4 separate regions of the Homo sapiens genome follow, and regions 1, 2 and 4 are each linked to region 3. Evidence: promoter capture Hi-C in 16 types of primary human blood cells and fetal thymus (Javierre and others, 2016). All regions are on one chromosome and are shown on one strand. Each heading gives the region's core, a stretch centred on a gene start or on the middle of the fragment in contact. The rest is flanking DNA. Distances are from core to core; before and after follow the strand shown. Region 1 has its middle 18 kb from the start of MIR4433B. Region 2 holds the start of LOC105374769 (a long non-coding RNA gene). Region 3 holds the start of AFTPH (aftiphilin). Region 4 overlaps LOC105374777 (a long non-coding RNA gene).

The links. The method cuts DNA at HindIII sites, captures the fragments that hold promoters and counts their contacts. A CHiCAGO score of 5 or more calls a contact.
Region 1: a contact is called between a fragment that was not itself captured here and the fragment with the promoter of AFTPH in region 3, in 1 of 17 cell types (megakaryocytes). The highest score is 5.2, in megakaryocytes.
Region 2: a contact is called between a fragment that was not itself captured here and the fragment with the promoter of AFTPH in region 3, in 16 of 17 cell types (megakaryocytes, M2 macrophages, naive CD4 T cells and 13 more). The highest score is 30.4, in megakaryocytes.
Region 4: a contact is called between a fragment that was not itself captured here and the fragment with the promoter of AFTPH in region 3, in 1 of 17 cell types (neutrophils). The highest score is 5.7, in neutrophils.

What each region holds. Positions count from the first base shown.
Region 1 is chr2:64,355,653-64,361,167 of GRCh38, forward strand. No RefSeq gene overlaps it. Among named protein-coding and RNA genes, the nearest start is that of MIR4433B, 18 kb to the left of the region's middle. The HindIII fragment of the contact is 2,725 bases long and covers 2,797-5,515 here.
Region 2 is chr2:64,328,648-64,333,728 of GRCh38, forward strand. LOC105374769 (a long non-coding RNA gene) reads right to left here and starts at 4,132. Exons shown (of 3, transcript NR_187908.1): 1 at 3,986-4,132; 2 at 3,378-3,572; 3 at 1,834-2,020. The HindIII fragment of the contact is 760 bases long and covers 2,523-3,282 here.
Region 3 is chr2:64,520,370-64,525,816 of GRCh38, forward strand. It overlaps AFTPH (aftiphilin), which reads left to right and starts at 3,959. Exons shown (of 10, transcript NM_203437.4): 1 at 3,959-4,243. It overlaps AFTPH-DT (AFTPH divergent transcript), which reads right to left and starts at 3,786. Exons shown (of 1, transcript NR_136167.1): 1 at 1,820-3,786. It overlaps MIR4434 (microRNA 4434), which reads left to right and starts at 5,144; the gene lies at 5,144-5,196. RefSeq lists enhancers at 3,516-3,735, 3,837-4,337, 4,338-4,838 and silencers at 3,936-4,095, 4,126-4,205, 4,216-4,465. The HindIII fragment of the contact is 6,179 bases long and covers 2,556-5,447 here.
Region 4 is chr2:64,754,827-64,760,352 of GRCh38, forward strand. It overlaps LOC105374777 (a long non-coding RNA gene), which reads right to left. Exons shown (of 6, transcript XR_940177.3): 6 at 2,163-2,988. Among named protein-coding and RNA genes, the nearest start is that of SERTAD2, 100 kb to the left of the region's middle. The HindIII fragment of the contact is 5,701 bases long and covers 1-5,330 here.

The DNA.
Region 1 (5,515 bases), core at 2,909-5,408, 160 kb before region 3:
GGTTCAAGTAGCATTAATTAATGTGTTCAGGAAAGTGATGATTGTCATGGGGACTAAGGGGGAGAATTTAAGGAGGAGAGGGAAAGGGTGGGAGCCAAAGTTCAGAGAACAGGAAATGTCTCAAGAGCTCTGGAAAGACAGCCTGTGATCAAATGTGTAGATGTTGAAGGAAATTCACATGGAGGAAAGGTGTGGTGCAGGTTGGACTCGGTACTGAGGGCACTAGAAAGGCAAGATGCCAAGCACTTTCCAGCAGGGCAAGACGCCGAACGCTTTCCTCATTTTCCTCATGCTCATGGAAGTCTCTCCCCTCTTTCATTTGATCAATGCATATTAGCCCCTACTTCACTTATGGGCACTCAAGAATCAACTAAAACAATGTCCTTCTCTGCATATTTTTTCCTGTTTCATTGGATATCTCCTCCTCAATTTTTGAGAAGAAATACAAGGTTATAAAAATCTGAATAAATTTTTCTCTGGAAGACTGATTTCGCCACGAGTAGTTCATTTCCAGAAATATAATCCAGTAACTATGTCCATGCAACACTCTTTGTAAGAATTTTCACAAGTCATAGTCACTTGCTTTCTTGAGGGTGACTGGCTCTTCCTTCAGTTCGTGGGATAAAGACTAGATCACTACTTCATGAGTTAGAAACAGAGTAGAGGAGTGTTATTTTGGTTTTCTTCATGCTGTTTGGGACTCTTGCTGTACTTTTTCTAAAACTCTGTTTTTGAGGCCACACAGACAGAACATTCTTTTGTACTCTTGTTGCTGTCTGGTAATATTTACTTTCATCTTATGGATTAAAGAGAGCTCAGATTTCTATATTTTAATACATGTGACCTAGATAGTGGTAAACCACCCACACTCACCCATAACTGTTTCAGATATGATACAGTACGTCTAAATATGCCTTTTGAAATTCTGATTAGCTCAGGGCAGGGGAGTATAAATTGCCTATGTTCCACTGACAGGAATCTTGCTGTTGGAGACTTCTCCAGTACCCGCCAAGCACAGACCACCTGGGGGAAAAGAACAAGAAGTATTCTCCCTCCCAGCTAAGTAGAATAACCTTTACTTCTGTCCTTCAGCACATGAACTGTAACTAAATACCTGTTTCATCAAAGCCAGATCCTCCCTCCTCTGGAAAGATTCCCCATCTTCCCAGGGACTGAACTCCTTGGGATACCCCCTTTTTCTCCTTTCTACTGCCTTGTTCCCTCTCCCTGACCTCAGAATTATTCCCATCTGCATAAAAATACACACTAAAAATTCCCCTTTTCACATGTCCCCCAGCTGCAGCTGCACTCCTCTGCTCCCACCACACTCAACATTTCTAGAATGAGTCCCCTGTTCACTGCCGTAGCCTCTGCCTTCACCACACCACTGAAATAGCCCTGTTCAAGCCCGAGTGACTGCCCTGTTGCCAAATCCAGTGGTCATGTTTTTGTCCTAGTCTTCTCCCCCTGCCCATTCCCTCCTCCTGGACCCCTGCTTGCCTCCTGGGCCAACCCCTCTCCAGGTGTCCCTTCTCCTTCACCACCATGTCTGCCCAGTCTCCTCTACCCAGCTTTTAATAGCCCAAGCAGTCCAGGATTTGGTTCCAGCCTCTGCCCTCCTTAGTCTCTTCTACCTGAGGCACCTCATCCTTGTCTGGGGATTGAAACACCCTCTTTATGCTGTTGACTCCCAAATGTCACTCACCAACCCAGACCTTTCCAGCGCAAGACTGGCTCATACAACTCTATGTGGCTTCTCTCAGTTCAATGTCTCATGAATCTCCAAGTTTAACCCATCCAAACCAAGGGCCGATAGGCATTTCTGAGCATTTGGGAATTAAAGGAATTTATTCTTGCTGCCTTTGTTCTGGATGATGCTGCCTGCTGATAAAATCTCTCTCTCTCTGTGTGTGTGTGTGTGTGTGTGTGTGTGTGTGTGTGTGTGGCACCTGGAGTTCTATGTGTACAGTATCCTGACAGGCAGCTGTGTGTCATTTTCCCTGAGCGAATTCCTACTGAACTGCCTTTTCCTACTGGTTCTGTGATATTTTGAATCACTGCCTTCTGCACCTCAACACCAACAAACGTCCACATCCTACATATTTCCTGGAATGCTGGGAAATGCTCCCTAAATTATGATGACTGTTCTGCTGGGACTATGGGACCAGGTTATACCCTTTCAGGTAGGGATGGAAAGAAAGTTCCGCCTGAAGGAAAGAGATCATTAACCGTCATTCAATCCAGAAGAGTTGATTCTGGGCCTTAGATGTAAGCAAGACAAACCATGATCCCTCTCTGTGTTCATGGCATCAATCAAGCCTGGAGAAATTGAAGATGTCAGTAGTGGACTGGTCACTGAGTTACATGAACATAAAACAATGTTTGAAAGCTCTTTTTGCTTAAGTCAATTTACTCACGAGTCCAACCCCATCCTGGCTGTTCCCTAAGGTCCTAAACTCCTCAATCATGAATGCTTCCATTCAGGGAACACTGGGATAATAGTACACACAAGAGGAGAATGTGAAGCTCTGGCCAGAGGTTCTCAATTGTGCTACATGTTGGAATCACCTGGAGGGCTTTAAAAAATGTTGATGACTGAGACCTTACCCAGAAACTCTGATTTACTTCATCTGGGGCATGGTCTGGTCATTGATAGGTTAACAAAACCTCCCAGGTGATTCTAATACCCAGCCAAGATTGAGAGTCCTACTCTGGACTATGCTGGCACAAACTGCACAAGGTTTTTTTCTTCAACACATGCCGATTTCCAGCAGTATAATTTCAGCTTCAGAGAGAAGCTTGGGCTTGCACTCATCAGATGGCACTGCCTCATCATGTGCAGTGTAGGGCTGTGTTTCCCCTGATAGACTGTGAGTTCTTTGAGGACTGGGGCCATGTCATTGCGTCTGTTTCTCCAGTGTCTAGTACATCACAGGAGCTCAATAAATGATAGCTCAGTGAATGGATGAACATGAAGCAAGGTGAAGTAGACAGTTGCCCCAGTCCCCGTGCCCTTGAGTTCACCTTCTGAGATGCACCTGCAGTGGCATGTCAGTGTGCACTCTGCATCACAGTTCATTCTGAGCTTGTCTCCAAGTTTCCCATACAGGGCACTCCGTGTGGGATTCTTCTCCACACTCCCATTGTTCTGCTGCTGCCTCCTCCAACAAGGCAGGGAAACTCCCCACAATAGGCTGGTTTCCTATTTGTGATGGTGGGGGGACTGTCACCTCAAGGTGTTTCATCCAGCCATTCCACACCTGCTCTCCTACTGGCCTAGGAATGTGGTACCCTGAACACTGGAAGGTCTGGAACCTAATGGGTGGTTCTGAGAAAGCATTATGGATGGTTTCTCTTTGAGATGTGTCACTGGTTTGACATTGTCATCTGTCACTCTCTGAGTCTCAGGATGACATCCCTTAGATGGGGACTCTGGGGGTGGTGGCTGGAGACGCCAGCATCATTGGTGCTTTGCCTTTGTTTAGCTCAGTTCCTATTCGGAATCCTTCACAATGGGGTGTTTTAACCAGGGACTCATACATGGCTCTTGGGGAGGGAGATCCATGACCCCCTGGAGTCACATGTCAGTATTGTACAAATACACTCTATGCACATTTCTCTAAAGAGAGAGAACCCCTCAATTTTAATCAGATTCTTAAAGTTGTCCATGACCACAAAAGGTTTGACTCATCTACCTCCCACTGTCTTCCCCACAGTTTTAACTTCCCACTGTTCCTAGAAGGCCTTGAGAGGGTGAGTTCTAACATCATTCTGCCACAAAGACCTGGAATGGGGTTGTCTAGGTTAGACCAGCCTGTGCATGTAGAACAAGACTACAAATTATTTGGTTTTCTGAAAACTTGGAAGGTAAAGGGGAGTATTATTAGTGGCCATCCTTCATCTTCCAACATGGACATTGATGCCACATGCAAGTGCGTGTGCCTGAGTGTGTGTGTGCATATATGAGTGTGTGTGTCACTGGCAGGGCTTCTCACACTGAGCATGTGTGTAACATCTGACAAGCAGCTGTGTCTCATTTTTTCTCGGCTTTTCCTGGTTGACTGACCATACGTTTCCTAGGTTTTGTGATGCTTATGCAAAATGGCCAGAATGCCCTCAGAGAGCTCAGCTGCCTGCTACCAACACGCCCACTTCCTGCCCACCTTGGACTACTCACACAACCCCCTGTTTCATCCCTTTCTCCAGGGTGGATTCTGTTTATTTGCAGCAAGATGCATGCGGTGTTGCCTCCTTCTTCTCCCTGGCACTCTGAAAGCACTCTCTGAGGCTGGGCGCCACCCCTACCTGAGTGTGTCTCACTGGCAGCAGCTGTGGATGAAGGGAAGTCTTATCTTCCCTTTGGCAGAGGCAGCAGCCCATGGAGCGGGTAGCCAGTGCCGTGCACACTCAGCCCCATTCTCTGTGGCAGTGGAAAGAGTGACAAGCATGGGCTTTAAACAGGGAAGCCAGTCTGGGGACTGCTAAGGCTCTAATAAGGCAGACTCAGAGAGAGCTAGGTGACCCCGCCCAGGACTGAGTAACGTTTGAGTCAGCATGGGCTGGCCTGGAAACGCAGAGTCGAACCTGCTTGTTCTCTGACTAGCCTGAGACTTGGCTCACAGCTGTCCCAGGCAAAGCAGAACACGTGGGAGCCTTGCTCCCTGCCCTCCCTGATGGCCTGATCTCCAGCCTCCTTTCCACTGCCTTCTCCTGCCAAGCCTTATATTTCCTCCTGGAGAACATTTCTCCCTCAGGCAGGGGAGCCTCCCTCATCAGGCTGTTGGTGCTGGCATAGTAAAAAAGGCAGGATGGCACCAGGGGGCACTTGTCTCTGTGTATGTTGTGCTCTGATATCAGGGCGGTAGCTCCAGCATGAGGAATGTGGATATCCTAGGCTTTGCTGATTGAGGGGTCCTGAACCTATGGGCTTCTCTCCTTGCCCAGATTTTTCTGTGTGTAAACCCCATGCACATATGAACACCTACTTAAGTGCATATGGTACCGTATCTGGTGCCTGCCCTCAGACAGAACCAAGATATGTGTGGAAACCTTGTCTGCACACAAGAATAACGACAATTATTTGGAAACAACAGCTGACATTTATTGAGCGCAAACCATGCTGGATACCTTGCTATGCACTTAACGTGAATTATCTATTTTAATTCTCACACTACATGTGAAGTAGGTCCTCCTATTATGATATTTTACAGAGCAAAGTGAGGCTTACCAGAGTTAAGTAACTTGCTCAAGATACACAGTAAGTGGTTGAGCTGAGCATCAAATCCAAGTTCATCTCCACAGCTGCGTGCATAACAACCATCAGGAACTAACCCTGTGAGGACGTCAAGGCACTGTGAGCAGCCAGAGAGTGGTCCAAACAGCAGGTGACACAGGAATTCCGTAGAATGAAAAAGCCTGATGATAAGAGGAAGGCGAAGGAACAGAGTGGGAAGGAGAAATGTGATGATTCTGGAAAACAACACCTTGAACTTTGCCATGCAAATCTGTTGGTTCC
Region 2 (5,081 bases), core at 1,653-4,152, 190 kb before region 3:
GAGGGAGGAGAAGGGGTAATTATAACCGGGGAATTTTTTTTTAAAGGCCTAGTTTCAAAAATCTCAGACTTAATTTAGTAAATTTCAATTACAGAGAGTTACTAAGCTGAAGATCATTTGCATTACATCCTTAATTACTACTTCATTTGTATCTGAGATCATCAATAGAGATTCTTGGGAATGTGTACTTGGAATAAGTGATTGATCCTAATGAGGCCTTTGTTCCTCCCAAGCCTCACTTAGGAAGCTATTTCTTCCCTCTTGCAGAGGCACAGAGTTTGCCAAGCCAGGTGGAGACACCCTAAACTAGAAATGGAGCCTGAGGTTTTCAAACTGGTTTTGCCAGAGGCTGCAAGACTCTAAGCTCTGTCCTGATGTTCCCCAACAGGCATTAATTGCTCTCCCCTGAATGCATTAGCACTGCCAGACTATTACGGATGATTAGCCTCCGTGCCCAGCTACAAACGTCCATCTTTCTTAGTTGGTAGCAGAGGAAATAGCCTTTTAGGACCTTCTCCTTGCACAGGATGGATGCCGTCCTGGACCTTCCTGCTTCTGCGTTTCCCGCCACCTTTAAAGAAAGTGCATCCAGCAGTCCTGGCCACTGGGTCTTTATTGGAAAAGCTGTTTTCCAAGATGATTTAACTCTGAAAAAAAAAATGAAAAGCCCACAAGAACTGAAGACCCTGTGTGCGTGTGTGTGAGTCTGTATTAAGACCCCTTTTATAGGAGACAGACTCCTTTTGGGGAAGAGGGAGAGGTAGGGAAAGGACGAAGTGAGTAAAGGCACTCTCAGCTAAATCCTGCATGCCCATAGTTCCTTCATTGTATGGTACCTCACACCCTTACAGGGCTTTACCGAGCGCTTGTTCATCTGTTAGCTTACAGGTAAGAGAATCATTGTCCTCATTCTCTGAGTGAAGAAACTGATGCTCACAGTAGTTAAGTGACTTTGCCCAAAATTACTGAGCTGAGGAGTGACAGAATGGGGACTGAAGTCCCAGTCTCTTAATTCTGTGCTCCTCGGATACCCCCAAACCACCTCCATGGTCTTCCAGCAGCCTGAACATTTATCCATTTATGGAGGTCAGGGTGTGGGTCCCACTGCAGCCTGCTGCCCCATTTAAACTTTATTTCTGAATCTGTACATTTAAGCAAACCACTTTGTTTCAGAGGCATCCAGAGAGTAGCCTTACTTAACCTTCTTCTGGAGGTGTGTCTATTTGGTGGAGAATGGTGGAGGGGCCTGGAGGGAAGGAAAGGGAGGAGCCAGTAGGGAATTTTCACAGTTTTCCACCAGATGAGGCCAAAGCCCAGAAGTCAGACAAATCCACGATTCTCCTGGCATTCTACAGAGTTGCCAACTCCCTGCCCTGCTCTTTGCTCTCATTATTCCTCTGGGGTGGTTTCCAAGGGTGGAGAAGTGTAGGCTGAGGAAATGTCTGTGTTGAGGGAGGGCAGATGCTGTGAGGAGGGAGGTGTTTACACCAAGCATCGAGCCAGGCCTTGGAGTCACAGGGACAGGCCCAGAGCAGGAAGTGTCCTCCAAGCTAGAAGTCCTCTAGTTCAGAGGTTCTTTGTCTCCTCAAGAACCTCCTGGAACCTCCTGGACATTGTAGCATCCTCTGCAATAGCCACTACCCCTAGCAGTGCAGATGGAGTACTGTAGTGAAATGAACAAATTTTTTGGAGCTCAATAACTCTGGGTTCAAATCCCACTTCTGCTTATGAGCTGAAAGATCTTGAGTAAGTCCTGTAACCTCCCTAAAGATCAGTTGAGATTACCAATATCCACTGCCTTGGCTGTTCTGAGGTTGAAATGAATCACGTTAAACAAATAGCAAATGGTGGCTTTAATTAGTAGAGGGTTAGAGGGCAGCCAGACAGTGGCAGGACAAAAAAGGAGGGCTGCTTGTCCTGTAGGCAGTAGCAAGGAGCGGGAGTGGATTCCACAGTGAAGCAGCTTCCAAGGGCTTTTTGTAAGCAGCCCCTATGCTGGCTCTGGGAGAGCTCTGAGAAACTAGTTTGAAAAGCATAGAAGTCATAAAATAGCACCAGTATTTTTTTTCTAGTGTGAGCAAAAATATTCATGCAGACAAATCCAAGCCAATCTTCTGGGACTAAGACTCTAAATATTACTTGTGAGTCACCCCAGCTTCCTTCCAAGAGAAAGACTCCCCCATCCCCTCACCCAACACCCCCGTCCGTGACACATTAAGATTGTAGCTTTTCAGCTTCTTCCACCAAACTCTCAGTCCCTCATCGTGGGCATGAGGACAGCCCTGTGTGCAGAAAACGTGTTTCTCCATTTCGGTCTCTCTCTTGGTTAAAGCCAATTTCCAAAAAAACCAAAACCACCTTATCAGAGCAAGACCCATGTCAAGCTCCGCAGCAGGCACTAGGTGGCGCTAGATCCCATGTTATTAAGGCAACTCTAAAGCTGCGCCCTTTTCTGGAAAAATGTTTCTGTTGTGAGATCCTCTCTTTCCCAGAGACCTGAGACCACCTCAGTTTATACCACAAGCTTAAAGCGCCACCAGAAGATCGCATACTATCTCAGGAGCCCCAGCTTTGCTGCTAACCTAGTCCTTTTCAGGGTGTGGCTGTGGAAGGAGTTTCTAGACCTGAGGCTGGAGACCCCAAGTCCTTTGCTGAACTGTAAATAATATTAGGAACAAGTAGTCCATTTCAACTTCTGCTCTGCCCTGAGGCGCAGGAAGGAAAACAACTTTTTCCCTTAGGAGGAGGTGAGGAAAAAAAAGAGGCAGATCCTAGAAGCTCCTTTGTGAGAGCAGCCAAGCATCTTCCCTGCCCTCTCCCGCAGAATGGAGGCCCACCCCGACCTCAGGTCATTTCCTTCCATGGCCAGCCCCCTCTCAGGGTGAAACATGATCCTCAGTGCCCCTCTGGAGGTAAGCTGTAGGTTCTTTTTTTCTCCAGGGATCTGAGCTGAGGTTGCCCTGAAATGCCTGTTTAATTTCATTGCCGAGAGCACACCTTCTCATTATTTCGAGAGCTGTGACCCCAAAGCACTTATGAACAATAGCAGCAACTGGCAGTTATAAGCTATTTACAGTTTTCTAAGCGTTATGAGCACTCTTGATGCCTGGAGAGGCAGGTGAGTTGCATTTTCTGTTTGCAGATACAGTGACTGACACCCCAGGGTCTCATTGGAACTGCTGGCACTGATGTTGTCTCTTGGAAATGATGATGATCATTGTTGCTTATTATAATTTTCACTGTTATGTTCCCTTTGATGTGTAAGAGGCCAAACAGAACACAAGCTTTTGGTTAATGGGTTTCCTGTTGGCTGAGTCTATCTGGGCTGAATGTGGAGAACCACTGAAAGGAGGTGAATGCCCTGAGCAGACCTTTACCTTCTTGGCCATGTGAGAGTTTACTGCAGTAGGAAGCTGGGCTCCGCAGAGTAAAGGGCAGGTGTGTGGGGAAGCCTTCCTTGCCCCTTCCACCGTGTGAAGACATAGGGAGACGATGGCCATCTATGAACCAGGAGGCAGGCCCTCCCAAGGCCTGTTGCTGGCACTTTGATCTTGGACTTCCAGCCTCTAGAACTGTGAGAAAAGAGTGCCTGCTGTTTAAGCCACCCAGTCTGTGCTATTTTTGTTAGAGCAGTCCGAATGGACTAAGACAGAAATTGGCATGCCTCTGTGACGTCGCAGAGACATTTAAGCCCTCAAAGAGGCCAGCCCCCTCTCAGGGTTTTTCTGGAAAAATGTTTCTGTTGTGAGATCCTCTCTTTCCCAGAGACCTGAGACTAAATGGTGCAATATAGTTGAGGCAACACAGTATATATAAATAAAAAGAAAATGAATGACTCAGAGAAGTTCTAGCAAGAGTCCAGAAACCCAATATCCTAGCTTGGCCGTGCAGAGGTTCCCTGTAGGGCAAAGAGTGGGGAAGGAGTTGGTGGGGCTGGGAAGAGGGGGAGGAAAGGCCCTGTTAGGTGTATTCCTGTTAGGAATACCTGGTGGCCTTTGCTGGGCTTTACTTTCTGCATAAGAAGTGGTTTTCCCCAAGCTGACGTCCAGGCTCTAGATGTCCAGCTGGGGTGTAATCAAAGGCTTTGGGCACCAAGTGCCTGGCTGATGTTTTGCACCTACCGGATACTCTTAAGTCCAAAGTTGCCAGGCACTGACTGCCTTGAGCATTGTTGAGATTACCACGGAGACAGCCTGTTCCATGGCCCATGAAGTCAGAGAGAGGTCACCTAGGAACCGGTGGGCTTCACCTTCTAGCTCACATCCCCACAAGTTTCTGCTCCTCGGGTCCTCAGAGGCTTGGATGAAGTTCAGGCCCATCACCCCCACCCCATCACAAACTCTCCCCCTTCCCTTCCACCACACTTTGGGAAAGTACTTCTCTTCCCTCATATTTGCTTGAAGAGCTTTTCTTTTAAAAATAAACACAATTATCGTTTTATAGGAAATGAACATACATGTAGAAATCCAACAAAAGGATTTATAGTAAAAAATAGGTCTCCTTCCCACCCCTGTCCCCCAGCACCCAGGTTCTCTTCCAAGAGGTACCCTCTAATACTCCTTGTTGACAGAAAGAGCCAAACTCTGTAAAATATTTGCAAAGATTTATTCTGAGCCAAATATGAGTGACCATGGCCCATGACACAGCCCTCAGGAGGGCCTGAGAACATGTGCCCAAGGTGGTCAGGGCACAGCTTGGTTTTATACATTTTAGGGAGACGTGAGACTTCAATCAAATACAGTTAAGAAATACATTGGTTTGCTCCAGAAAGGTGGGACAACTTGTAGGTGGGGGAGAGGTGGGGGCTTCCAGCTTATAGGTAGATTTTAAAGTTTTCTGGTTGACAATTGGTTGAGTTTATCTAAAGACCTGGGACCAATAGAAAGGAAATGTTTAGGTTAAGATAAAGGATGGTGGTGACCAAGTTTTATTGTTCTGAAGAAGCTTTCAGCAGACTTCAGAGAGAGCAGGTTGTAAAATGTTTCTTATCCCACTTAAAAGGTTACCTGGCTCTTAGTTGAGTATCTCCTGGGTCTGGAAAGAAAGAGGAAAAAGGAGGGGAGGGGAAGGGAAATCTCCAT
Region 3 (5,447 bases), core at 2,709-5,208:
TATGTCTAGATAAATCTAGGAAATTAGTTTGAGGTCTTTGATTTAAATGTTACGTATTCAGGTCAATTACCACTACCAGAAGCCCATCCTTCAAAAGTTTTTCGTTGGAAAGTTCTATAAAATTTGTTAGAACTTTATATACAGAATTTGAGCCTTTAAAAAATTTGCTGAAAAAGTTTCAGCACCTTTAGAAATAATGTAGTCAAACAGCAGTTTCTTCCCTACCTCTCCAATTTTATGGATAAAATTAATACTGTCTTAACAGGTTAAGACATATTAAATATTGAAATATTCAATATTTTCCCTGATACATTGAATATGTCCATAAAGTTCTAGATATCCAGTACTCCAGGAAGTACTATAACACCAAATTGTAATTTTTATTATTTATGCAATAAATTTGATAAGCAAATCCAAGAAAGATCAGTGGGAATGATTAAGAAACAAAATCTCTGTTGCTCATCACACTTTGGGAAAGTCGCTCATTATTATTATTATTATTATTATTATTGAGAAGGGGTCTTGCTCTGTCAGCCAGGGTGGAGTGCAGTGGCGCAATCACAACTCACTGCATTCTTGACCTCATGGGCTCAGGTGATCCTCCTACCTCAGCCTCCCGAGTAGCTGGGACTACAGGAGCATGCCACCTCACCTGGCTAATTTTTTGTAAAGATGGAGTTTCACCATGTTACCCAGGCTGGTCTTGAACTCCTGGGCTCAAGTGATCTGCCCACCTCGGCCTCCCAAAGTGCTGGGATTACAGGCGTCACCCATCATGCCCAGCCTAATAACCTATTTTTATAGAACTGTATGAAGGACATATTTCAAGAGGTAGTGGTGACATAATACCTGTAATCCCAGCGTTTTGGGAAGCCAGGGTGGGTGAATTGCTTGAGCCCAAGAGTTTGAGACCAACCTGGGCAACATAGTGAGACCCCATCTCTACAAAAAATAAAAAAATTAGCTGAGCGTGATGACATGCACCTGCAGTCCCAGCTACTTCGGAGGCTGAGGTAGGAGGATCCCTTGAGCCCAGGAGGTTGAGTCTGCAGTGAGCCGTGATGGCACCACTGCACTCCAGCCTGCGCAATGGAGGGAGAACCTGTCTCAAAAAAATAAAAATATAAATAAATAAATAAATAAATAAAATTTTAAGTAAATGTTTAGATACAGAAAGGACCTTGGCGATTATCTGGTGCATATTTCTTAAGCTGTGGTTCAAAGACCCTCTTCTGTGAATGAGCTTTAGGATGAGAAATTTGAGTGTCTGTGGATACAAGCATTTTTCTATAGAAAGAGCCAAAGCTTTTACCGTATTCTTAAAGAGATACATGTGCCAAAACATTATTTGTCCTAAGAGGGTTGAGAACCTGTGATCTGACTGTATTCTCTCATTTGTTATATAAGGAGACTGAGGTCAAGAGAGGTTGAGTAACTTATACAAAATCATAGTGACAACAGAACTGGTCATAGACCCAGGTTCTACGCATATTGCTTTTCCAGAACACCAACACATTGCTGAGGTTTTGTTCTTGCTTGTCTGTTAATTTCTTACACAATATAAAATGAATTAAACTGTTTTCACTTTTTATTCTTTCCATCTTTTTTTCCCCTCTTAATTATCATTCACTGCTGGTTGGTAAGGAGGTGGTAAAATTAGTGCACTCATATATTGCTGGTGGCATTCTAAATTAGCAGTCTCTTGGAAAATAATATGAGATGATAAATTACCAATAAAACATTCATTGCCTTTTCGCTTAGTAACTTTTATACTGAGAAAAAAAATTCTAAAATTGAACAAAGCCACACACACAAAATGTTCATCTAAGTATTATTTTATAATACTGAAAACTATCCATATAGTGGTCATTCCATTGACTACTAAGCAGCCAATTAAAATTAAGGTTTTACATTAAACGATGGGTGGAAATGCTTACAACACAAAAGGGACACAAAATCTACTTAAATTATGATTACAAGTTTGTAAAAAGTACGCACAGGAAAAAAAAACTAGAAGTAAATACAACAAATGTTAACTGGTAATTTTTTTCTTCTTCTTTTCTTGATGCCAAATCTTAGGTAATGCAGTTATGGCCATAATTTTTAAAAGGTAAATAAAAACAATACTATCATTGACTCCAAATGAAATGGACTTTATATTTCCCACAGATTTATCACCTTAAAAACACTCAAATACTTTCCCTTTGTAATAAAATGTCATGAGCATTAGGGCACTGTCTTCGGAATTACATGTAAGATTACCAATTACAAGTTAGTTGGCCAAATAGGTACTCAATTTCCCTATTACAAAATTGTAAGCTGATGGGGGGTGTGCAATTTAATTTAATTTTTTTTTAGACAGGGTTTCACTCTGTCGCGCAGGCTGGAGTGCAGTTTAAATTCATTTAGTTTAAACATGTTCTTAGTGTAGGGTCTGCTTTAAGGTCTAGTCATATGTTCTTATTTTGATATTTCTGTTTAGTAGAGCTGTAAAATGAAAACAAGCATGTGTTCGTTTAAAATCAATTTCTAGTTTCTACACACACACAAATTCAAGCTTGCACACGAGCTAAACCAGCAGGGGGCGAAATACAATAGGCATAAATTTGACAAGCCATATAGATTTTTCTTACTTTAGTGACTGAGCAATAACACAAAATCCAGCATAACCACAAAGCAATTGATACTCCCATTTAAAGTGATGCAGTCTCCGTATATCTTACAGCGATTGAATAGTAAAGAGACAAATGCGGGTCCATTGGAGCGCTCCGAGTTAATTTGTCTAGAACATTGCAGAGGCGGGATAAATCGTGATGAACTGCTATTGTCCTTATCTTTCTCCTGATTTGTATAATTCCTCCACCCAAAGGGGTGGACACTTCTCTGTGCCTGAGGGGATGTTTTCCATTCTTGTTTCTTTGCGTAACTGCTGAGCTTTGCTGTTTTGGAACTATTTTAAATTATTCAAATTACTGATGCAGACGTTTGGCAAATATGGGCAGAATGAGGGGCCGGCGGGGGTCATGATTTGTAGGACCCCGGGCTCATCATCCGAGACAGTAATCATAATCCTGTAGCCTTGTAGTCTGATTGTTACACTGGCAGGTGTTCTAACAGATATTCATTGTAAAGGAGGAGGAAAGGTAATATTTTTATTACCTTTATATAAATAACAGTTGATTATATAAATAATCAACTGTTCAGGACTGATGATGGAAACAAAATCGGTTACGACCTCTGTTCCAGAAATGCGTTTGAATGCATAAGTTTATGGTGATCTCTTTAGCTTCACTAGATATTCTCCGTAAGGGTCTATGAAAAACGACCACCTTCTCCATCCATTAGCCAAATTCCGGACTACTATTTTCTTGTCGGTCTCGAAGACGATTTGTCAGTTTGGCGGCTGCTTTCCCACCTTAAATTCTATTTATCGCAACCTCTTGTTATTTGTTAAATATCAGCTTCTTCCTCTGTCGGCATAAATTTAAAAAGAGGAAGAGACAGGCTGTGAATGAAAAAGTCGTTTTTCGGGGCGAAAAGGGCAAGCTGACGAATGCTCTCTAGTAGGTTTTTGGTAAAAATGTGGTTCTATATTTCCAAACCTTTACAATTTTATTTGGAGAGCAAGAGACTTAATCCGGTCTTGAGCTGAACGTTAACCGGCTGAAAGGAGCACCTGTCCTTCGCCAGGAGCGCAGCCTCAACCGGCGCCTGAGTGCGGGAAGACGTCTATCCCCCTACAGCTCTATGACTCGCAAGGAAGTAAAAGGAAAGGGCAGCTTGCCCGCACCCAAAATGGCGGTCGGCGCTCTGCACGACAGCGCCTGCGCAGGGATAAGCGTTCTGTGACACCAATTCCCCTGGAGTGTCCTCCCCCACCCCACAGCACCCACCAGCGCCCGGTCCCGACCTAGCCACCTGCGCCCGGAAGTGACGTGTCGGCGGCAGCGGTTCCCCCGCTGCATGATGGGAGAGTGTGTGGAGTGGGCGGGGGGTCTCCGCGGAGGAGGTGGAGGAGGCGGCGGCGGCGGCGGAAGAGGGCGGAGGGTAGTGGGATGGGGGTCCCGCGGCAGCGGTGAAACTCCGGGTGGGCGTCCATGGTGCTGCTGCGCTGACAGGGCTGTGAGCAGCCGGCCTTCCGCTCTCACCAGTTCCGCGTCGGAATAGACGGTCCTTCCCCGGGGAGTCAGTTCCTCCCCGGGCCCCTGAGCCATGCCCATCGCAGCCGCCCCGAAGGAGCCAGGTAAGCGCCGCCGCTCCGCTCCCCTAGCTGCGCCGGGGAAAGAGGGTGCGGGGACCAGGCCCGGCCCAGCAGCCAGACCCTCACCCGGGCCGGGAGCATCTGCCCGCCGCGGAGCCGGGAGCTGTGAGGACGGAGCTGGCTCTGCGGGCCTGCGGGCTCCCGGCTCTGCTCTCTTCTGCGGCGAGTGCGGGAACGCCGCTGGTGGCGCCCGAAGCGCACGGCCCCCTCCTCGCCATCCCGGGCACCGGCCGGGTAAGTGGGAGTCCTTCCCTCCCCGGCCACCGCCGGCTCTCCCTGCCCCTTTGCTTCCACCTCCCAAAGCTCCGCGCTGGCTGCGTTCTCCAGGGAGCTGTTCAGAAGTTTGGGGCTTTGCTTGGGCTTCTTCGCTCTCCTTCCCCCTCCCTCGTGACAGGTGTAAACACTGCCTCCTTCACCGAGGCCCGAGGCTGGCCGCGACCTGAGTGTGCTGCTTCCAAGGGTCTCTGAAGCAAGCGAATTTGGAATCCTCCAACAGGCAGAGGGGACAGCCCCAAAGCTCACGCATCCCTTCCTCAGAGTACCTTTTCTGCTGTCTTCTTGCACTCTTCAAGAAATTATCTGCGTCTCCTCTCCAGTTTGCGTTTGAAAAGTTGGACCATATTCCTTAAGTGCCTGGTTTGGCAGGTGCTGCGTCTTGCTTGGGGCAGAGGCAGAGTATGGAGTGAGGGGTGGTAGGGTCCTTGCTCTATTAGGAAAGTAATGGGGATAGCAAGGTTTTTTTTTCCTTGTTGCTTTGTGCAAGTTATAGCTTGGTTATACTGAATCTTTTCTGTTGGGGCCGAGGGAAGAACTGACTCATACATGTAAATTTTTTACTGGGCGGGGGGATGAAACAAAAGTAATGGTTCCGTTTCAAAGTTCTCACTTTAGGAGAAGTAAAGTAGAACTTTGGTTTTCAACTTTTCCTACAGTGTAAGTCTTCCTTCCACCTCCTATTCCGAGGATTTTATTTGGTGGAGGGGAGACACAGAGTTTATCTTTGATGCTACACTTAATTGTTGCTTTCAGTTAACCTCTTAGACATTAAAATATATGCTAAACTCTAGGGACAACAAATGTTTCAACATTATTATGTTAATATAATTAACACAGTCACGTACATTTTATATGCTTTACCAGTTTAAATGTTGGCTTTTTTAGTAGTCATTTTTAACACTTCGCAGAG
Region 4 (5,526 bases), core at 1,230-3,729, 230 kb after region 3:
TTCTATATAGTTTTCCTCTTGCTTATCTCTACTTTCTAATCTGTTGTGATTATGAGTTGGATGTCTTTTTTAAAATCTGAAAAACAAACAGTATGTCATAATAAAAGATTTCCTTTTTATTGTTATTTATATATTTATGATTGTAGCTGATCAGTCTCGCTCTGTCGCTCAGGCTGGAGTGCAGTGACGAGATCTCGGCTCACTGCAAGCTCCGCCTCCCGGGTTCAGGCCATTCTCCTGCCTCAGCCTCCCGAGTAGCTGGGACTACAGGTGCCTGCCACCACGCCCGGCTAATTTTTTTTTGTATTTTTAGTACAGACGGGGTTTCACTGTGTTAGCCAGGATGGTCTCGATCTCCTGACCTCGTGATCCACCCACCTCGGCCTCCCAAAGTGTTGGGATTACAGGCGTGAGCCAAGCTCCTTTTAAACAGATTTGAACATATACTACCCACATAGATCAGGAAGCAAAAGCAAATCCTCTATCAAGGATAAAGGATTCCACCCAGACCTCATAGAATTTCTACATATAAAGCCTAGGCAAACATGAGCTCACAATCCAAATTACAAAACAAATGAAGAAAAAGGCCATTGTGAGCAAAAGAAGGTTGAGGGAAAAACTTTTTTTAAACCTACACAGCCAAATTAGATTCTCAATCTGAAAAAAGAACAGATCAAGAAAAGAATAGGCCCATTTCACTTATGAACATAGATGCAAAAATTATAGGTAAAATACTAGCAAACTAAATCCAACATGCTTATTACAGTGAGCTAGGAGAAACCTTAAAACGTATTTCCCTGTCTTTAGAATGCATTTATCTGACTAGCCACCTATCTAGTCCTCTATCATGAAAACATAATAAATTAGGTAGACTTTACTCCAGAAATTCAAGTATGATTTAACATCAGAAAGTCTATCAATATAATCCATTTCAAAAGACTAAGAAAAAGCATTTGAGAGAGTATATAACTTATTAATGATAAAAACTTTTATAAGATTAGGAATAGAAGGAAATTTACTTAACCTCATAAAGGACCAAAATGTACAGCAAGTACATTACTTAATGGATTAACTTTAAACACATTCCACATAAGTTTGAGATCAAGATAATGTTGCCTCTACTATTTAATATGACGCTGAAAGTTCTGGCTAACAGAATGATATTTTTTAAAGGAGGAGGAAATAGAAGAATTAGAAGGAAGGAAACTAAATTTGGATTGTTTGCGGTAATACGATCAACCACGTAAAACATCCAATAGAAATAGCAAGCTATTAGAAATAATAAGCGTTCAGCAAGGTGACAGAGATGTTGTTCTCCCCTTCTTCCATAATACTAGGTTTTTTAGCAGGGCACAGGGCCAACCAGAATAAAAACAACATTTGCCAGCCTCCCTTGCAGCTAAGTATTGTCATGCCCCAGGCAACGGGTTGTAAGCAGAAGTAGTGCATACATCCTTAAAGGGAGAAAGTGTGCCTTCATCCTCTTTCCTGTTATCTGGAATGCAGACATAATGGCTGCAGTGTTAGCAGTCATTTTAGATCATAAGCTGACCTTGGATAGGGAAGCCACACATGGCAGAGCAACAAAACAGAAGACACCTGATATAACAGTACCAGCCCTGAGTTATCTACTCACCAAACTTCTTGAATTTCTTGAATAAACCTCTGTCTCATCATGACACTTTTATTTCAGTTTGTGTTTGTGTGTTTGCATTACCTATAGCCAAATCTAATCCCAACTGATATAGCAAGATTCCCAAATAGAAAATCAATTCATGGCCCTGCACAGTGGCAACACTTTGGGAGGCTAAGGCAGGTGGATCATCTGAGGTCAGGAGTTAGAGGCCAGCCTGGACAACATGATGAAAAACCCTGTGTCTACTAAAAATACAAAAATTAGCCTGGTGTGGTTGTGCATGCCTGAGTCCCAGCAACTCAGGAGGCTGAGGCATGAGAATTGCTTGAAGGATCAGAGGCGGAGGTTGCAGTGAGCCGAGATCACGCCACTGCACTCCAGGCTCGGCAACAAAGTGAGACTTGGTCGCCAAAAAAAAAAAAGAAAAAGAAAATCAATTCATGGAAACTGAAAGTATTCATTCACACTTACACTAACAAACTAGAAAATAAGATACTATTTATAAAAGCAACAAAACTATAAAGTATCCAGGAATTAACATATTTGAATTTATTGAAGGAATTCAAAGGAAACCCAAATAGAGGTATATATAATGTTTATGGATAAGATGATGTAACGTTATTAAGATCTCAATTATCTCTAAATGTGTTTATAAATTCAATGCAAACCAAACTTGTAGCAAGATTTGGGGAATTTAAACGTATTCTAAAATGCACATGGAAGACTAAATTTCTTTATAAGTCGGTCATTTTTTATAGTAGCAGACATACAGAACCATGAAACAGAATAGAGAACTCAGAAACAACCCATTTACATAAGAGAATCTGATATGTGATCATGGTAACACCACAAATCCATGAGGAAATCATGTTGAGTTAGTCAGCTATTGCTTGCTGCAATAATAATATTATGTAACAGATAATCCCAACTTATCAGTGGCTTATGGTAGTCATTTATTTTTCTCCCTTATGGGTCTGTATATGAACTGAGATTCAGCTCATCTCATCTGGGCTCCTTAAGACTTGGTTGGGTTCAGCTGAATTCAGCTGGACTTGGCTCCAGGATGCAGGTCAGATTCAAGTCTTCACCACATGTCTCCTTCTGGCAAGAGGTCAAGCCAAATCATTCAAATACATTTAACACCTCTCCTCTCATCATATTCACCAACATTCCATTGGCCAAACAAGTCATATGGCCAAGTTGAACATCAATAGTGGAAGGTAATGCAAAACTTCATGCCAAAAGGCACAGGTGTATAATTGTAGAGCCAGGAGAACAAGAAGGATTGGGAACAATAATCCAATCTAACACAGAGATTTGGTTTCATAGATAATGTTGGGGAAATTGATTCACTGTGAGAAAAATATAAAATTAAACCCCTATCTCATACCATATGCAAAGGTGAGCTCTACATTAGCAACAACAACAACAAAAAAAAACCTAAAAGTAAAAGGTAAAACTAATAGAAATTAAAAATAGAAGAATAGCTTTGTAATCTTAGGGTAGAAAAAAGAAGAAAAGCATTTAAACAAGACTCAAAGCATAAACTATAAAATCAAAAAAAGATGAACTTGATGACATCAAAATTTTAAACTGTTCTGTTCAACAAAAAACATCATAAACAAGTTTAGAGAAAGTTGATAGATTGGAAAGTATTTTCAAAGGCTGAAGCCAACAAAAGATTAATATCTAGAATATACAGTATTAAGAATTCCTACAAATAACTGAGAAAAAAAAGAAATGCAATAGAAAAATAGCCAAAGGATATGAACAGGCAGATTTATAGAAGGGAACCTTGAGAGACTAACAAGTAGATGAAGAGATATCCAACCTCACTTATAATCAGATAACTGTACATAAAAACACCAAAATACTTATTTACATCTATTAAATAGGCAAACGTGAAAGTTTAGTAATATCAAGTGTTGCCTAGGATAGGAAGAAATTTGAATCCTCCTGCTTTGTTATTGGGAGTTAAGTCCTGGTACAATCATTTTGGAGCATTAACTAACAATACTTAATGAAATATAGAATGTGGTAGAATGTATTTTTCCCGATGACCCAGCAGTTCCACTCCTGGGAATGTGCACCCCTAAGAAGCTCTTGCACAGGTCCTTAAGTGACCACAATTGAGGTGTTCATCACAGCAGCACTTGAGCTAGCCAGATATTGAAGGCAACCTTAGCATATACATCACCAGCACAATGGGTAAGTACGAGGTAATGGGTGCCATGGAACAACATGCAGCTGTTGGAAGTAATGCACTAAGTGTACATTTTGCAACATGGATACATTTTTTTAAATGTTTTATGAATTTTTTAAAAAAGGTAAACAGAACAAGATCACGTAAGCCCCAGGCCTTTGAATGTCTTTCCTATAGGGTACATCTCTTTGTTTTTCATTTCTGCTTTTAGCTGGGACACTTTGAGGGAAGGGTAGGGTAGGTATTGTTACAATTCACTTCTGACAAATATTTTCTTCCAGTTCTCACATGAGGTTGAGGCAGATTTTCATGCAGTCCCCAGGCCCCCATGGTTTCTACCCTCATAGCATCCACCATCACCTTCCTGCTCCCCTTTTGCATGTTTAAAAGACATTTATCGATTATATGTTTTCTTCTCAGGCTGGGTGCAAGATGAGTGATGGCTGTTGAGGAGTGGGCCACAGTCTGAGATATAGAAAACAATCCTGCTACTCTGCTATTCGTATCTGCTCACATCCCCATTTCCAAGTTAAAAACATACGAACAGATCAGGTGCGGTGGCTCACGCCTGTAATCCTAGCACTTTGGGAGGCCGAGGCGGGCAGATCACTTGAGGTCAGGAGTTTGAGACCAGCCTTGCCAACATGGTGAAACACTGTCTGCATTAAAAATACAAAAATTGGCTGGGCGCAGTGGCTCAGGCCTGTAATCCCAGCACTTTGGGAGGCTGAGGCAGGCAGATCACCTGGTCACGAGATCAGGAGATCAAGACCATCCTGGTTAACACGGTGAAGCCCCGTCTCTAATAAAAATACAAAAACAAAATTAGCCGGACGTGGTGGCAGGCACCTGTAGTCCCAGCTACTCGGGAGGCTGAGGCAGGAGAATGGCATGAACCCAGGAGACGGAGCTTGCAGTGAGCTGAGATCACGCCACTGCACTCCAGCCTGGGCAACAGAGCAAGACTCCGTCTAAAAAAAAAACACCCAAACAGTCCTGGATTTTTCAAAGTTGTAAGACTACTGATCTAAACATATATTTACTTATGTATCTTTGTACACCTCTTAATGTGCTGTCAGTTCTAATAATAACCATAAGGATAAAACAATAACAGTGATTATAATATCAACTTTGTGTCAATAAGCAAGCAGTAGGCACGAGGGCCATTTAGAGTTGAGAAGCATGAGATGAAAAAAGAGAGCCGAAGAAGATTAGGTTAAATATCAGAAATAGCTCCCTGAAATCAGGATTGATGAACAAATGGAGTTACCAAAAGGCTGGGGATACATGGGTAGTTTTCTGAAAAAAAATTTAAGGGTTTTCTAGCTAAAGACAGGGGAATGGATGAGATGGTTCTTGAAGTTTCTCCCAGCCCTGTTAGGTTATGAGCCCTCCAGTAGGCATGTTAAAAACAAAATCGTTTCCCACAAAGGTACGCTCAGAATAACGCCTGTTTGAATTATGCTGCTTTAAAAGCCAGTCTCTGCCCGAAGCTTTTCTTAAGGGCTATTACCAGTATACTAAATTCTGACCCTTAGTAATGGCTAGGATTTCATGGCCCTCAAACTCTCATATGTAGGAGCTTGCCTGAGCTCAGGTAGGGAGCTCTACAGGAAGGCCCCTGTTGTGAGGCCCAGCTGCTCATACCCTTTCCTGGTGGACTAGCAGCAGCTGCAGGCAATTCTCC